3 separate regions of the Homo sapiens genome follow, and all the other regions are linked to region 3. Evidence: promoter capture Hi-C in 16 types of primary human blood cells and fetal thymus (Javierre and others, 2016). All regions are on one chromosome and are shown on one strand. Each heading gives the region's core, a stretch centred on a gene start or on the middle of the fragment in contact. The rest is flanking DNA. Distances are from core to core; before and after follow the strand shown.

The links. The method cuts DNA at HindIII sites, captures the fragments that hold promoters and counts their contacts. A CHiCAGO score of 5 or more calls a contact.
Region 1: a contact is called between a fragment that was not itself captured here and the fragment with the promoter of GML in region 3, in 1 of 17 cell types (naive CD8 T cells). The highest score is 5.1, in naive CD8 T cells.
Region 2: a contact is called between the fragment with the promoter of LY6S-AS1 here and the fragment with the promoter of GML in region 3, in 2 of 17 cell types (naive CD4 T cells and total CD8 T cells). The highest score is 6.9, in naive CD4 T cells.

The regions. Positions count from the first base shown.
Region 1 is chr8:142,992,347-142,996,898 of GRCh38, forward strand. The region is part of intron 1 of LY6E-DT (LY6E divergent transcript); the gene reads right to left. It also overlaps the pseudogene CDC42P3. Among named protein-coding and RNA genes, the nearest start is that of LY6E-DT, 24 kb to the right of the region's middle. RefSeq lists an enhancer at 1-464. The HindIII fragment of the contact is 3,439 bases long and covers 1-3,275 here.
Region 2 is chr8:143,036,110-143,040,664 of GRCh38, forward strand. LY6S-AS1 (LY6S antisense RNA 1) reads left to right here and starts at 3,100. Exons shown (of 6, transcript NR_149322.1): 1 at 3,100-3,460. RefSeq lists an enhancer at 2,772-3,323. The HindIII fragment of the contact is 8,465 bases long and covers 1-3,817 here.
Region 3 is chr8:142,832,392-142,836,518 of GRCh38, forward strand. GML (glycosylphosphatidylinositol anchored molecule like) reads left to right here and starts at 2,410. Exons shown (of 4, transcript NM_002066.3): 1 at 2,410-2,477. The HindIII fragment of the contact is 21,811 bases long and covers 1-3,607 here.

The sequences.
Region 1 (4,552 bases), core at 306-2,805, 160 kb after region 3:
AGGGAAAAGGGAACTGCAGGGATTCTGTGTCCCTGCAAGCAGGAAGGAAGGGGCTGGGGCTGTACTGAACCTGCATCAACAGAGGCCAGCTCCTGCTTCAAATGCAGGGTCCTCTCCCCCTCCAATTGGCTGTGTGCCCAATGGTGTCTGGGAAGCAGGCTGCCACTCACCCTGCTGGGAGTGAGAAAAGAAAAGAACTATTATCTGAGAAATGTGAGTCTTTTTCTATTATCAGGCCCAGAGAGATACTGACATGAGACAGCAGGTGCTTCCTTCTACTACCTTGAGCTATGGACTCATCTCCGGTGGTTGCCATTGCCAGCAGCTATGAATTCACCTGATAATGCCACACTGGAAACGAAAACCCACACCCTGGAGCTTAACCATGTCCAGCCAATCACCCAGCAATGTCACTTCTGTGAACCAATCAGAATTCCTGACAAACAACGTTATATCAGCCACACTCTGCCCCCTTTTTGCCTTTAAAAATTCACTTGTATGGCTGGTCGCCATGGCTCACGCCTGTAATCCCAGCACTTTGAGAGGCCAAGGCGTGCAGATCACCTGAGGTTAGGAGTTCGAAACCAGCCTGGCCAACATGGTGAAACCCCATCTCTACTAAAAGTACAAAAATTAGCCAGGCATGGTGGCAGGTGCCTGTAATCCCAGCTACTTGGGAGCCTGAGGTAGGAGAATCACTTGAACCCAGGAGGTGGAGGTTGCAGTGAGCCAAGATCACACCATTGCACTCCAGCCTGGGTGACTAAGCAAGACTCCGTCTCAAAAAAAAAAAAAAAAATCATTTGTAGCTGGGCTCAGTGGCTCACGCCTGTGATCCCAGCACTTTGGGAGGCCAAGGCAGGCAGATCACCTGAGGTCAGGAGTTCAAGACCAGCCTGGCTAACATGGTGAAACCCCGTGTTGACATTTTTGTAGAAATCTCTACAAAAATACAAAAATTAGCTGGGTGTGGTGGCACACACCTGTAATCCCAGCTACTCAGGAGGCTGAGATGGGAGAATCGCTTGAACCCAGGAGGCAGAGGTTGCAGTGAGCCAAGATCGCGCCACTGCCCTCCAGCCTGGGCAACAGAGCAAGACTTGTCTAAAAAAAAAAAAAAAGACTTGGAATCCATAGAAAGGAATGTCTGGGTTAAGATAAGGGATTGCGACACCAAGATTCTTCTCATTCAGGTAAAGCCTCCAGATAGCAGGCTTCAGGGAGAATGGAATGTAAATGTTTCTTATCAGATCTAAAAGGGTGTCAGTCCCTTAGCTGATTCTCTCCTGGGTCAGGAAAAAGGCCTCAGAAGAAGGGGATTCTCTACAGACTGTAGATGTTTCTCCCACAAGAGACAACTTTGCACGGCTACTTCAAGATATGGCAAATAAACGTATATGCATTTAAAATACCTCATTTCCTTCCTTGTCCGTCATGTGATGCTACACCACAGTCAGGCTGGAAAGGCAGCCGTGTTATGTGGGGTTAAATAAAACCCATTTGAGAGACTCTACGGTCTGTAGGGCACACTCCCCAGGCCTCTTAGGTAGGAATTTGGGCAAAAGAAGAAAAAAGGGCCAGAGTTTAGTCCTCAGAACGCTGACGTGGAACCCCCTGCCCTCAGCCAGCTAGCCTGCCCTGCCCTGTTCAAGCACCATGGGGCCAGGAGTGCCTGAGGGTGGAGGCAACTGGAGGCAGCTGGAGGCAACTGGAGGCAGCTGGAGGCAGGCCCTGGAGTGGTGGGCAGCCCTCCCAGCCTCCTAACCCATGCTCAGACAGGTGACCACTGGCAGGCCCAGCTCCAGGCTAGCCCCAGGGACAGGGAGACCAGTCCCCCTCAGTGGGAGTCTGAGAGGGTGACTCTAAGATTCCCCACCAACACCAACCACTGACTGGTGTGGAGGAAGCCCAGGGTGTGGGACCCTAGCACGGTAGGAGGTGGCCGTCAGGACCAGGAGTGTGAGGCTGGTGGGAAGAAAGGACCTTTTGCCAAATAGGAGGTGGTGTCTTCTTTAGGTATGTCAGGGTGGGAGGCTCCCACTCCATGTCTCATTGACCATCAACAACGGTAGCCCCAGATCCCCAGTGCCCAGCCAGCCTCTCTGGGACCTCTCTGTGCAGGTAAGACTTTGTAAACACTGAAGGGGCTCTTCCTGCCTGCTGCATAAAGAAAGACCATGGCATTGCAATAAGGAAAGAGTTTAATAGACAAAAGGCTGGCCACGCTACAGAGATGGAGTTAGCACTCAAACAACCTCATGCAAAACTCACAGGTTAGGGGTTGTTCAAAGACAGTTTTAGGGGAAGGAGTTGGGGAGGCCAGGTAATAGGTGCTTGCTGCTGATTGCTTAGAGCAGAGATGAAATCACAGGGGGTCAACGCTGAGTCCTAAGGACTGAGTCACTTCTGGGTGGGGTCACACGAGTGGGATTGGCAGGTCCAGGTGGGTCCAGGTGGAGCCACGGTCATGCACAAACACTGGAAAAGATTTCTCAAAAAGCCAATCTACAATAGTGGTGTTATCTGCAGGAATAACTGGGGAAGTTGCAGATCTTATAACCTCAGAAAAAAATGGCTGACAACCCTTTCTGTCTGTGCCTTACCAGGACTCAGGCAAGCTCCACCTCCTGGGTTCAAGCAATTCTCATGCCTCAGCCTCCTGGGTAGCTAGGATTACAGACACATGCCACCACACCTGGCTAATTTTTATATTTTTTGGTAGAGATGGTGTTTCACCACCATGTTGGCCAGGCTGGTCTCAAACTCCTGACCTCAAGCGATCTGCCTGCCTTGGCCTCCCAGTGTGCTGGGATTACAGCTGTGAGCCACCATGCCCAGCCCAGTACCTGTTTTTACTGAAGACAAATCATAGTAGGACAAATTTATTTAAAATAATTTTTCATCTTATACTTGGCCTGAGTGTTTGCATAATGTCAGCACGAATAATTATTTGCCATATAGGCCTGTCTTAAAATTGGCTTTGCTGGAACTTTATTCTATAACGAATCCCAGATTTGACTTTTTTTAAAGCCTTGAGCCCAGCCATGATTTATTGGTGCCTGAAAATACCTATATAAATTGGGCAATGTCCTCTCCTCAAGGTCCCAGGATAATTTGGGGCTCCTGAGCCTGTCAGAAAGTGACATTCTTTACATACTACAGGCAAGGAACTCTGTACAGTGACTGTGTAGACAAGGGATGAGGCCAACTTCATAAGTCAGCTTTGACTCCTTAAAGCAGTCTGTTTGTATCCAAAAGTACATCCTTCCGGTCAAAGCTTTGGTAAAATAACCAGTGTCTCCAATTATGTCCTGTTACAAAAGAAAATACATTCTTATTGAACTTATGCAAATAACTATACTGCCGTAAATTAAGTATACTTGCAAATAGTTTTCAAATTTCTACAGAAATCAGGTAGACAGAAATGTACTTCAGAGTTTACTCACAGGAGGGTACTTTACCCAGTTGTGAAAAGCTGTAGAGTGCTGCTAATGCCCCAGTGAAGAAGCTGAGGTCAACATCAGATTTGAAATATTTAAAGTGGATACAAACTTATTTCAGCAATGCAGACAATTAAGTGTGTTTTTGTGGGCAATGGTGCTGTTGGTAAAACATGTCTCCTGATATCCTACACAACAAACAAATTTCCATCAAAATATGTACCAACTGTTTTTGACAACTATGCAGTCACTGTTATGATTGGTGGAGAAACATATACTCTTGGACTTTTTGATACTGCAGGGCAAGACGATGATGACAGATTATGACCGCTGAGTTATCTACAAACAGATGTATTTCCAGTCTGTTTTTCAGTGGTCTCTCCATCTTCATTTGAAAATGTGAAAGGAAAGTGGGTGTCTAAGATAACTCACCACTGTCCAAAGACTCATTTCTTGCTTGTTGGGACCCTAATTCATCTCAGAGATGACCCCTCTACTATTGAGAAACTTGCCAAGAACAAACAGAAGCCCACCACTCCAGAGACTGCTGAAAAGCTGATCCGTGACCTGAAGGCTGTCAGGTATGTGGTGTGTTCTGCACTCACACAGAAAGGCCTAAGGAATGTATTTGATGAAGCAATATTGGCTTCCCTGGAGCCTCCAGAACTGAAGAAGAGCCACAGGTGTGTGCTGCTAGGAACATCTCTCCAGAGCCCTTTCTGCACAGCTGGTGTCAGCATCATACTAAAAGCAATGTTTAACTCAAACTAAAGATTAAAAATTAAAATTCGTTTTTGCAATAATGACAAATGTCCTGCACCTACCCACATGCACTCGTGTGAGACAAGGTCCATAGGTATGGCCCCCTCTTCCCCCTCCCAGTACTAGTTAATTTTGAGTAATTGCGTATTGTCAGAAAAGTGATTAGTACAAGTTTTTGTTTTGTTGCTTCAAAATTTTTTTGTTTAAAAGCAAGGCATGCTTGTGGATGACTCTGTAACAGACTAATTGGAATTGTTGAAGCTGCTCCCTGGTTCCACTCTGGAGAGTAATCTGGGAGATCTTAGTGTGTGTGTGTGTGTGTGTGTGTGTGTGTGTCTCCTCTTTCTTTG
Region 2 (4,555 bases), core at 1,850-4,349, 200 kb after region 3:
AAAACACATTCAGGCTAGGCACGGTGGCTCATGCCTGTAATGCCAGCACTTTGGGAGGCCAAGGCCGGAGGTCAGGAGTTGGAGACCAGCCTGGCCAACAGGGTGAAACCCTGTCTCTACTAAAAATACAAAAATTAGCTGGGCCTAGTGGCACACACCTGTGATCCCGGCTACTTGGGAGGCTGAGACAGGAGAATCGCTGGAACCCGGGAGGGCAGCTGGACGGGAGGGCAGCTGGAACCCGGGAGGTTGCAGTGAGCCGAGATCGCGCCATTGCACTCCAGCCTGGGTGACAAGAGAGAGACTCCATCTCAAAAAAAAAAAAAGATTCAACATTAATGAATGAAGCATTCATCACAAGAAATTACAGGAAGAACAGCAAATGGAATCCAAAAAAACGGAAGAAAGAAACGAATAAAAGTGACATCAGAAATTAATAATATGGAAATTATGTACATATTAGGATACACAAGTTAGTTATTTCTTTGGATAAACTAAAAACTTTGATAACTCTTGCTTTTTTTTTTTTTTTTTTTTTTTTTTGAGACAGGGTCTCACTCTGTTGCCAGGGCTGGAGTGCAGTGGTGCAATCTCAGCTGACTGCAACCTCCGCCTCCCAGGTTCAAGCAATTCTTGTGTTTCAGCCTCCCAAGTAGCTGGGATTACAGGCTTGTGCACCATGCCCGGCTAATATTTGTTATTTTTTGTAGAGATGAGGTTTCACCATGTTGGCCAGGCTGGTCTCAAACTCCTGACCTAAAATTATCCACCTGCCTCAACCTCCCAAAGTGCTGGAATTACAGGTGTGAGCCACCACGCCCAGCCTTAAAAATGTGGATAATTCTTGTGGGAGACCAGTCAAGAAAAGAAGAGGAGAAAAACAGCCATAATAGCAATGGGGAAAAAATCAGGATCAACAGAGTCTTCAGCCGGGCGCAGTGGCTCACACCTGTAATCCCAACACTTTGGGAAGCCGAGGCAGGTGGATCCCTTGAGCCCAAGGGAGAAATAGCGAAGGGGGACACGTCACACTTTCAAACCATCAGATCTCCTGAGAACTCACTCACTATCACCAGAACAGCAAGGGGGAGGTCTGACCCCACGATCCAATCACCTCCCACGTGGCCCCTCCGCCAATTCCACATGAGATCTGGGCGGGGACACAAATCCAAACCATCTCATCCTGTAACTTCTTTCTCCCTAAAGGGTATAAAATCGAGCTGTACCCCGGCCACCTTGGGCACATGTTCCCCGAACCTCCTGAGTCTCTGTCATGTGAGGTCATGGTCCTCACATTTGGCTCAGAATAAACCTCTTCAAATATTTTAGAGTTTGGCTTTCTTTCATCAACACATCCCATCCTGTAAAACGCAGAGTAAGCCGGAGAGAATGGCTCACACCTGTAATCTCAACACTTTGGGAGACCAAGATGGGAGGATCATTTGAGGCCAGGAGTTCAAGAGACCAGCTTGGCCAACAAAGCAAGACCTCATCTCTAAAAAAAAAATAAGTAAATAAAAACAAATGTGAGTGACTTCACTCTTCTCTCCCAGAGCCTCCAGTTGTCACTTTTCTGAGTTTCTTCAGGGTCTCTTGAACTGTACTCAGGGTGTCAAGAGGTACAGTTGGGAAGGATGGGGGCCTCTAATGAGGGGGTTAAGAGCATCATTCTGGAGGAGACATGAGGGAGGCAGCAGAGAGGGGCTGTGGTGTGGCCTTCACACACTGCAACTCCTGGAGGTCGGGCAGGGGCAGGATGTCCAGACAGTGGACGCATGAGTGGGGAAGCCTTCAGCCACCCTGACTCCACCTAGGAGGTGCCCCAAGGCAGAACCAGCAGCTGAGCCTGGCCAGCCCCGGCAGCGATGAGAGACAGTAGGTTTTGGGGTGACCAACAGGGAGCCCCAGCAGGAGCCCAGCAGGAGAGAGAAGCTGGATATTGATCCTGCTGGCCCCTCCTGCAGTCCGCAGGACTGTCCACAGCCCTCGCTCCTCTTAAGCAGCTCACCTGCCTTGGTGGCCCCTCCCCTCCTGGCCCCTCCTTTTGGGCCTGGGTTGGGGGTGGCAGGGGTCCTGTCCCTGCACCCGGAGTGGAGTGGGATATGGCACTGGAATGTTTCTAGGCAGCCCACTCCTGTAAGAGGGCCTGGGGCTGGGCCCAGTAGTTCACACCTGTAATCGCAGCACTTTGGGAGGCTGAGGCAGGAGGATCGCTTGAGCCTCGGAGTTCGAGAGCAGCCTGGGCAACATAGAGACCCCACTTCTACTTGAGAGACACACAGAGAGAGAGAGAGGGAGGGAGGGAGAGAGGGAGGGAGGGAGAGAGAGAGGGAGGGAGGGAGAGAGAGAGGGAGAGAGGGAGGGAGGGAGAGAGAGAGAGAGAGAGAGAGAGAGAGAGAGAGAGAGAGAGAGAGAGAGAGAGAGAGAGAGAGAGAGAGAGAGAGAGGGAGAGAGAGAGAGAGGGAGGGAGGGAGGGAGGGAGAGAGAGAGGCTTCTGGTAAATGCTCCTATTTTGCAAACTCTCTTCCTATTTTGTGATTAGGATGCTCCATCAGTTTCTGCCACCAGCTTGCTGGAGACGCTGCGTGTCCCTGACTCCTCTCAAAGGGTGAAAAGCTCAGTCGCACCCGAGACCTGCTCCTCAGGCAGAGGATGAACTGAGTCCCCGCCCCACCGCCCGTCTGGCCTCTGTGAGAGTGGCGTGCAGGCTGACCCTGGAAGCAGAGGGACATTCGAACGGGCCGGCGGCCTTCTCCCCGCTAGGCTGGGCTCCGGGGTGGGCGGAGAGTGGCCGCCACAGGCCATCAGCGTCCGGGGTTCTGGAAGCAGGGAGGGCAGAGGCTGGCCCAGCCTATGGGAGACCCTGCAGAGGCGTGGCCTCCAGGCTAATCCTACCCCAGCTGCCCCAGGGCGGGATTTCTTTTCTTTTTTCCTTTAATCTCTTTATCTACAGGCGCCGAGGCTTAATGAGCTCCAGATGTCTCAACATACCAGGAGAGGTTTAGGATCCCCTGCCAAATACAAGGGAGATAAGAACGCACCAGACTTGCACAAACCAGAGCTGGTGACCCCCAGTTCCCTTTAAATCAGCGACATGTCATTACAAGGCGGAAGTCCTGCCCGAGAGGACAGTCCCCAGGCCTTGCTAAGCATGCGTGGTATCAAGAGGTGCATTGAGGCGCTCCTGCAGCCTCCTCCCGGCACGGGACTCCTCACAACCCCCAGCCTCAGCTTCCCTGACAGGGCAGGGGCTCACTCTTCTCCACTCCGGGCCAGGAACGCAGCCTGCTTGCCTTTTGTCCAATTGGGTGCTCTTTCTTTGCGACTGATACAAAGTGGGAACAAACTCCGCTTCCGGTGATGCCCGGGCCCCAGGAGGCTGGGGGAGAAGTGCACGCTGCCCAGCCTTCAACCTGAACTGCCCCCAGCACTTCCGAGCCCCGACCCCTGCAGCTGTGAGGTGAGGTGGGGAGGGGGCGGCCTGCGGGGAGGGGGCTGCCTGCGGGGAGGGGGCTGCCTGCAGGGCGGGCCGTGTGGGTCCCCCGAGCGTGGGGGACCAGTGACGTCAGGCAACATTTCTCCAAAGGCTCCCTCACCTTGTCCTTTGGCATCTGGGGTGCTCAGAGGAAGGGGGAAGCCGGGAGGGTGTGGAGAGGGTCACTGGAGAGGGGAAAGGCCAGAGTGATCCCCTTGGGGACGAGGCAGAGGAAAAGCTGTGGAGACCTAAAGAGAAGAGGTGGGGTGCGCCTGGGCCTCTCAAGTTTGTTTCCCAGAACCAGGGAAGGTTACAGTGGAAGGGAGGACCCTGTGGGGAAGAAGCTTCCAGAGACCTTCTGGAGAGGTGAGCCAAAGGCGAGCCATGGCCAGAAACCCCAGGCCTGCTGCAGTGGAGAGTCAGTGCTGCAGGAGGCTTGGGAATCAGGGCTGCCCTCCTTGGGCTGAACCCTCTATCTAGGGGACAATGGCCCTGGGCAAAAGCACTGCTTTCTGGGCCCCCTGGAGGGTAGGGCATGACACTGTGGTGCTAGAGGCAGGGGGGACATGAGGAGGTAGACGAATGTCCTGAGTCACCAGGTACAACCACTGCACCCCATTGTGACTGCCCCTGTGTCCGACACAGATTTGGGGGGTCTGGAATGTCCCTTGAGCTCCTTAGGCACTCATGAATTTCTAGTTGAGCAAATAAAATGTCCAAGATGCCCAGTTTGATCTGAATCTCAGATAAACAACAAATAGTCATTTTTACCAATGTTTGGGACATACTTATGCTAAAAATTGTTTATCTGAAATTCATATTTAATTGGGCATCTTACCCCATTGACCCTAATTAGCAAATCACATCCAGGAGTACAGGGCATGGCTGGGTGGTGGCTGTCACACTGTGCAGTCAGAGGGACCAGGACGTCTTGGATGCAGGCGTCTGGCCAGCGTGGAAGGCCAGGACCTGGTCACGAGATGTGGCTCCCGGCATGGCAGGTCAAAGACTGCTGGTCGTCTGAGCCCAGCCCTGACTCCAGGCTGAGATGGCCATTCACCCAGACCTTGAGCCCTGCCC
Region 3 (4,127 bases), core at 1,160-3,659:
TAAAGACATCCTGCCTCAGGCCCCTTAGATCAGGCATCCAGAGATTTTTACACCTCCAATACTAGGCAAAGCATAAGCCCATAGAATCATCAGTCAGGCTGGAGTTAGAACGTATATGACTATGTGATCGTAAACCCCAGACACAAAAACCACTTGCAAGTGGTCATGAGTCATCCTCACCCTGGGAAGCGAACAGAAACCATCACTGGAGGGGGACATACCCTCCACTCAGACCCCCAGCCTCTGGTTTACTAATGACAAATACAGATATGCCACAGATAACCAGAGGCACAGAAGTGATTAAGCCCCCAGGAGCAAAGGCAGAAGAAACAAAGTCTCCAAGTTAGACTCCCAAGGAATTCCCATATAGGAATGATTGGAGGCAAATGTAAACATACAGCCTTGAAAAGTCAGGAAAAAATCAGGTCACTTCCACTTCTACATGGGATGCAGTAGGTTGTGGCTGCTCAGAATGTGACAACCGGGCAAATCAATCCACAGAGTTAAAAGTCACATTTGAAAGGCCCTTGGACAGATGTGGAAGCACCAAGGCCTGCATGAACTGAAATTCCGCAGAGGGCGAGCCCTTCCCAGGGTACCCTTTGTCATTGCAGATACATTTGTCACTTTGGGCACCAGCTGAAAGCCAGGCTGGCTACAGACAGGGACTCCGGTAGGGAATGCAAACCAGAGTGCCGTCTTGGCTCACGGGGAACCAAAGTGGCCCAGAATCTCCAGGTACCTAAAGATCAAGACAGTTTTCCCATGGAAGAGCCTCCAAGTGCTGTGGTGGGAGGGACCCTGGGGAGTCAGAGAAGGCCAAGTAGAATCCCCCCCAGTGTGGCAGATCCCAGGAGACAGAGTGCCCCTAGAAGGAGCCTGCCACAGTCATACCACTGGTCTCCATCATAAGCCAGTGGCCCCGATGGAACAGGTGTGTGGGATGAGGTTCAAGGGGAAAGTCAAAGCCTAGAAAGGGAAACCCGTCCGAGCTGAGGATTCGGTGTGAAAGGTGAGCATACAAATTGGGTCACCCTTGTCACACCCAACTAAGGCAGAGTGCCAGGTAGGGAGACCATTCAGCACTCAGGATAGAAAACATTGCTCCAAGAATGTACTTCTCTGAGGCCTGACTGCTGAAACTGTCTGCGGTAACCTGAAACCAGTTTTATCTGATGGCTACTGAGACCACCTGCTGCAACTCTAAGCCTCGGTTCACCCACTGCCGTCACTGATTCACTCATCAACCAGAGCTTGCCAGCTCCCCAAAATCCTACTAGTGCCAATGAAACTCAGACAGCAATATGTACTATTTCTCTTCTTTATAAAAAAGAGACATAGTTCCTTTTTTTTTGAGACAGAGACTTGATTTGTCCTGCAGGTTGGAGCACAATGGCACGATCTCGGCTCACTACAACCTCCACCTCCTGGGATCAAGGGATTCTCCTGCCTCAGCCTCCTGAGTAGCTGGGACTACAGGCACACACCACCACACCCAGCTAATTTTTGTATTTTTAGTAGAGACGGGGTTTCACCATGTTGATCACTCTGGTCTTGAACTCCTGACCTCAAATGATCTGCCCGCCTCAGCCTCCCAAAATGCTGGGATTACAGGTGTAAGCCACCGCGAATTTAAAAAAGCCTTTTCTTTGTTCTTTGGACATACTGAAGGCCAGCCAGTCTGCCCCCGTGCCCCTAATTGCAGTTATTTCCTCCCAAATAAAACATTTCAATTTCAGAAATTCACCTATTTTATATGACTTCGACAAGAGCCAAGCCACACTGTGTAGGAGATGCTCGGGTGAAGCCAGCTGTCCCTGGCCACACACAGCTTGAAGGCAAAATGGCAGGAGCTCAAGCGAAAGCCAGGCAGGTCTCCCCCTGAAACCTCTGCACAGGTGGGCGCTGGCGGGGCTGAAGGGCAAGGGCACCGCTCAAGCTGGCTTTGGTCAGGGTTAGGGACAGGGCCGGCTCCAGAGGCGACGGGGTCGCACCCTGAGCGGAGGGGCTCCCGGGGTCCCCAGGGGTTATGGTGATGGCGGGACCCCCTAGAGGGAGGGTCCAGGAACGAGGCAGGTGGACTGGGACCTTGAGGGCAGGGTGGGCCTGGGCGGTGCCAACAGGCTGCCGAGGGTGGCTGCTGTCCCGTTTCTCCAGCAGCCAGGGCCGTGCGCTTCTAGAACATTCCCCGTGGCTTTCCTAAAGGGAGCGTGGATGGAGCCAGGGTGTGCAGATTTCTGTGAGAAATATTTTCACCTGGGAGCCCCAAGGGGGACCCTGCCCACCTTTGAACACTGGCAGATGGGCTGGAGGCCTGGAGCCTGGGGACGGGGCTTTGAGGGTCCGGAAGGAGGGCGGGGCTGTGCGGCCGGCGGAGGCCCCCGAAAGTTCCAGAAAGCGGGTGGGGAGGTCGGCGCGGGAGGCTCAGATGGCTGGAGGCGGCGGGCACGCACACTGCGGGGCTCCGAGGGGCACAGGTCAGTTTCCTGAGGCGGGTCGGGACCCAGGCGTGAGACTGGAGTCTGCCCAGGGGCCCAGCTGAGGCAGCCTCCTCGTCAGCTGCTTGGGCCGCCAGGACGCCGCCGGGGGTGCGCCGCGCTTCCCTGGATGGGGTGCCCCCACTCCCCTCGGAGCCCCAGGGAGACCCCCCGAACTCAGCTCCTCTCAGGGGTGCCAGGGGGACCCCTCAAAACTCCACTCCCCGCAGGTTCCTGGGGAGACGCCCCCTGCTCCATTCCCCTCAGGGTCCCAGGGAGACCCCCTAATTCAGCTCCTCTCAGGGGTACTGGGGGACCTCTCGAGCTCCACTCCCATCAGGGTCCCAGGGAGACCCCCCAACTATGCTCAGGGGTCCCAGGGAGATGCCAGCACCCCAACTCCGCTTCCCTGGGGCCCCCCTCCCCTTACAGCTCAACTTCCCTCGAGAGTCTGGGGCTGGGGCTCCGTTCAGTTCTTGAGTCCCCTTCCCTCGGGGTGTCCCGGGGCCGCCCACCCCCACACTGTCTGTGATTCCCCAAGGCGCGGGTCTCGGGCCGCAGCCTGTTCCACGTTCTGCTGCTCGTTCTTTTCTGGCTCCTTGCTTTCGAAGGAGAGAAGGAGGCCTTCGTTTCCAGTCTTTTTGCCTTTTCTAATGGAGCCCTGCTTTTCCTTCCGTGTCCCTTCAGGCTACTTCTGCCAGGTTTCTATTTTTCATTCTTTATTATGACTTTGCCCAAAATATTCTTGACTTCTATTGAGAAGGATTTGGGGGTCTATTTCTTATTTGGAGGTGTGTTCTTAAGTTCCAAACAGATGAGGATTTTCCAGTTAATCCTTCTGGGGTGACTTATTGCTTAATGCCACCATAGTCAGAAAATGGACTCTCAGTGTCCGAAACTGCATTCGGCTCTGAAGTGTCTGTCCTTGTCACCTCTTGCAATGTTTTTTGCCTGGAAGCCTGCACTCGCCGACGCTGACGTAACTGTTTCTGCCTTTCAGTTCTACAGCCTCCTTTGCTTTGTGATATTGTCATATACTTTATTTCTATATATGTTATGAACTCAATATTTCTTGTAGTGGGTCTGCTGATAATAAGATATTCCTACTCTTTTTGTCTGAAGCCATCTTAAGCTTACCCTGTATTTGCCCCATGCATCTCTTCCGTTTCACGGTTCCTGAGTTGTCACCTTTGTGATAAACTGGTAATAGTAAGTAAACTGTTTTCTTGTGCTCTGTAAGCTGTTCTAGCAAATTATCTAGGAGGAGGTGGTCTTGGAAACCCTTGATTTATAACTGGGCAGTCAGAAGTACACGTGGCCCAGACTTGTGATTGGCATCTGAAGTGGGGGCATTAGGGTGGGACTGAGCCCTTCACCTGTGGGGTCTGCCCTGCTCAAGGCAGTGTCAGAATTGAATTGAAATGTTGGACGGTCAGTGTCCAGAGAGTTGGAGAACTGGTTTGTGTGTAAAAACTCACATATTTAGGGTCAGAAGTATGGTGGTGTAGAAATAATTCATACTATAGTCCCTTATTTCTGCCTCTTACACATCCTGTTATTTTTAAAATTTTTTCATCTTTAAAAAATCAATTTAGTAATCTTTTTCTCTTTAATGCTCTCATTAGAATTTTTAAAGTACTTGTATGCTAA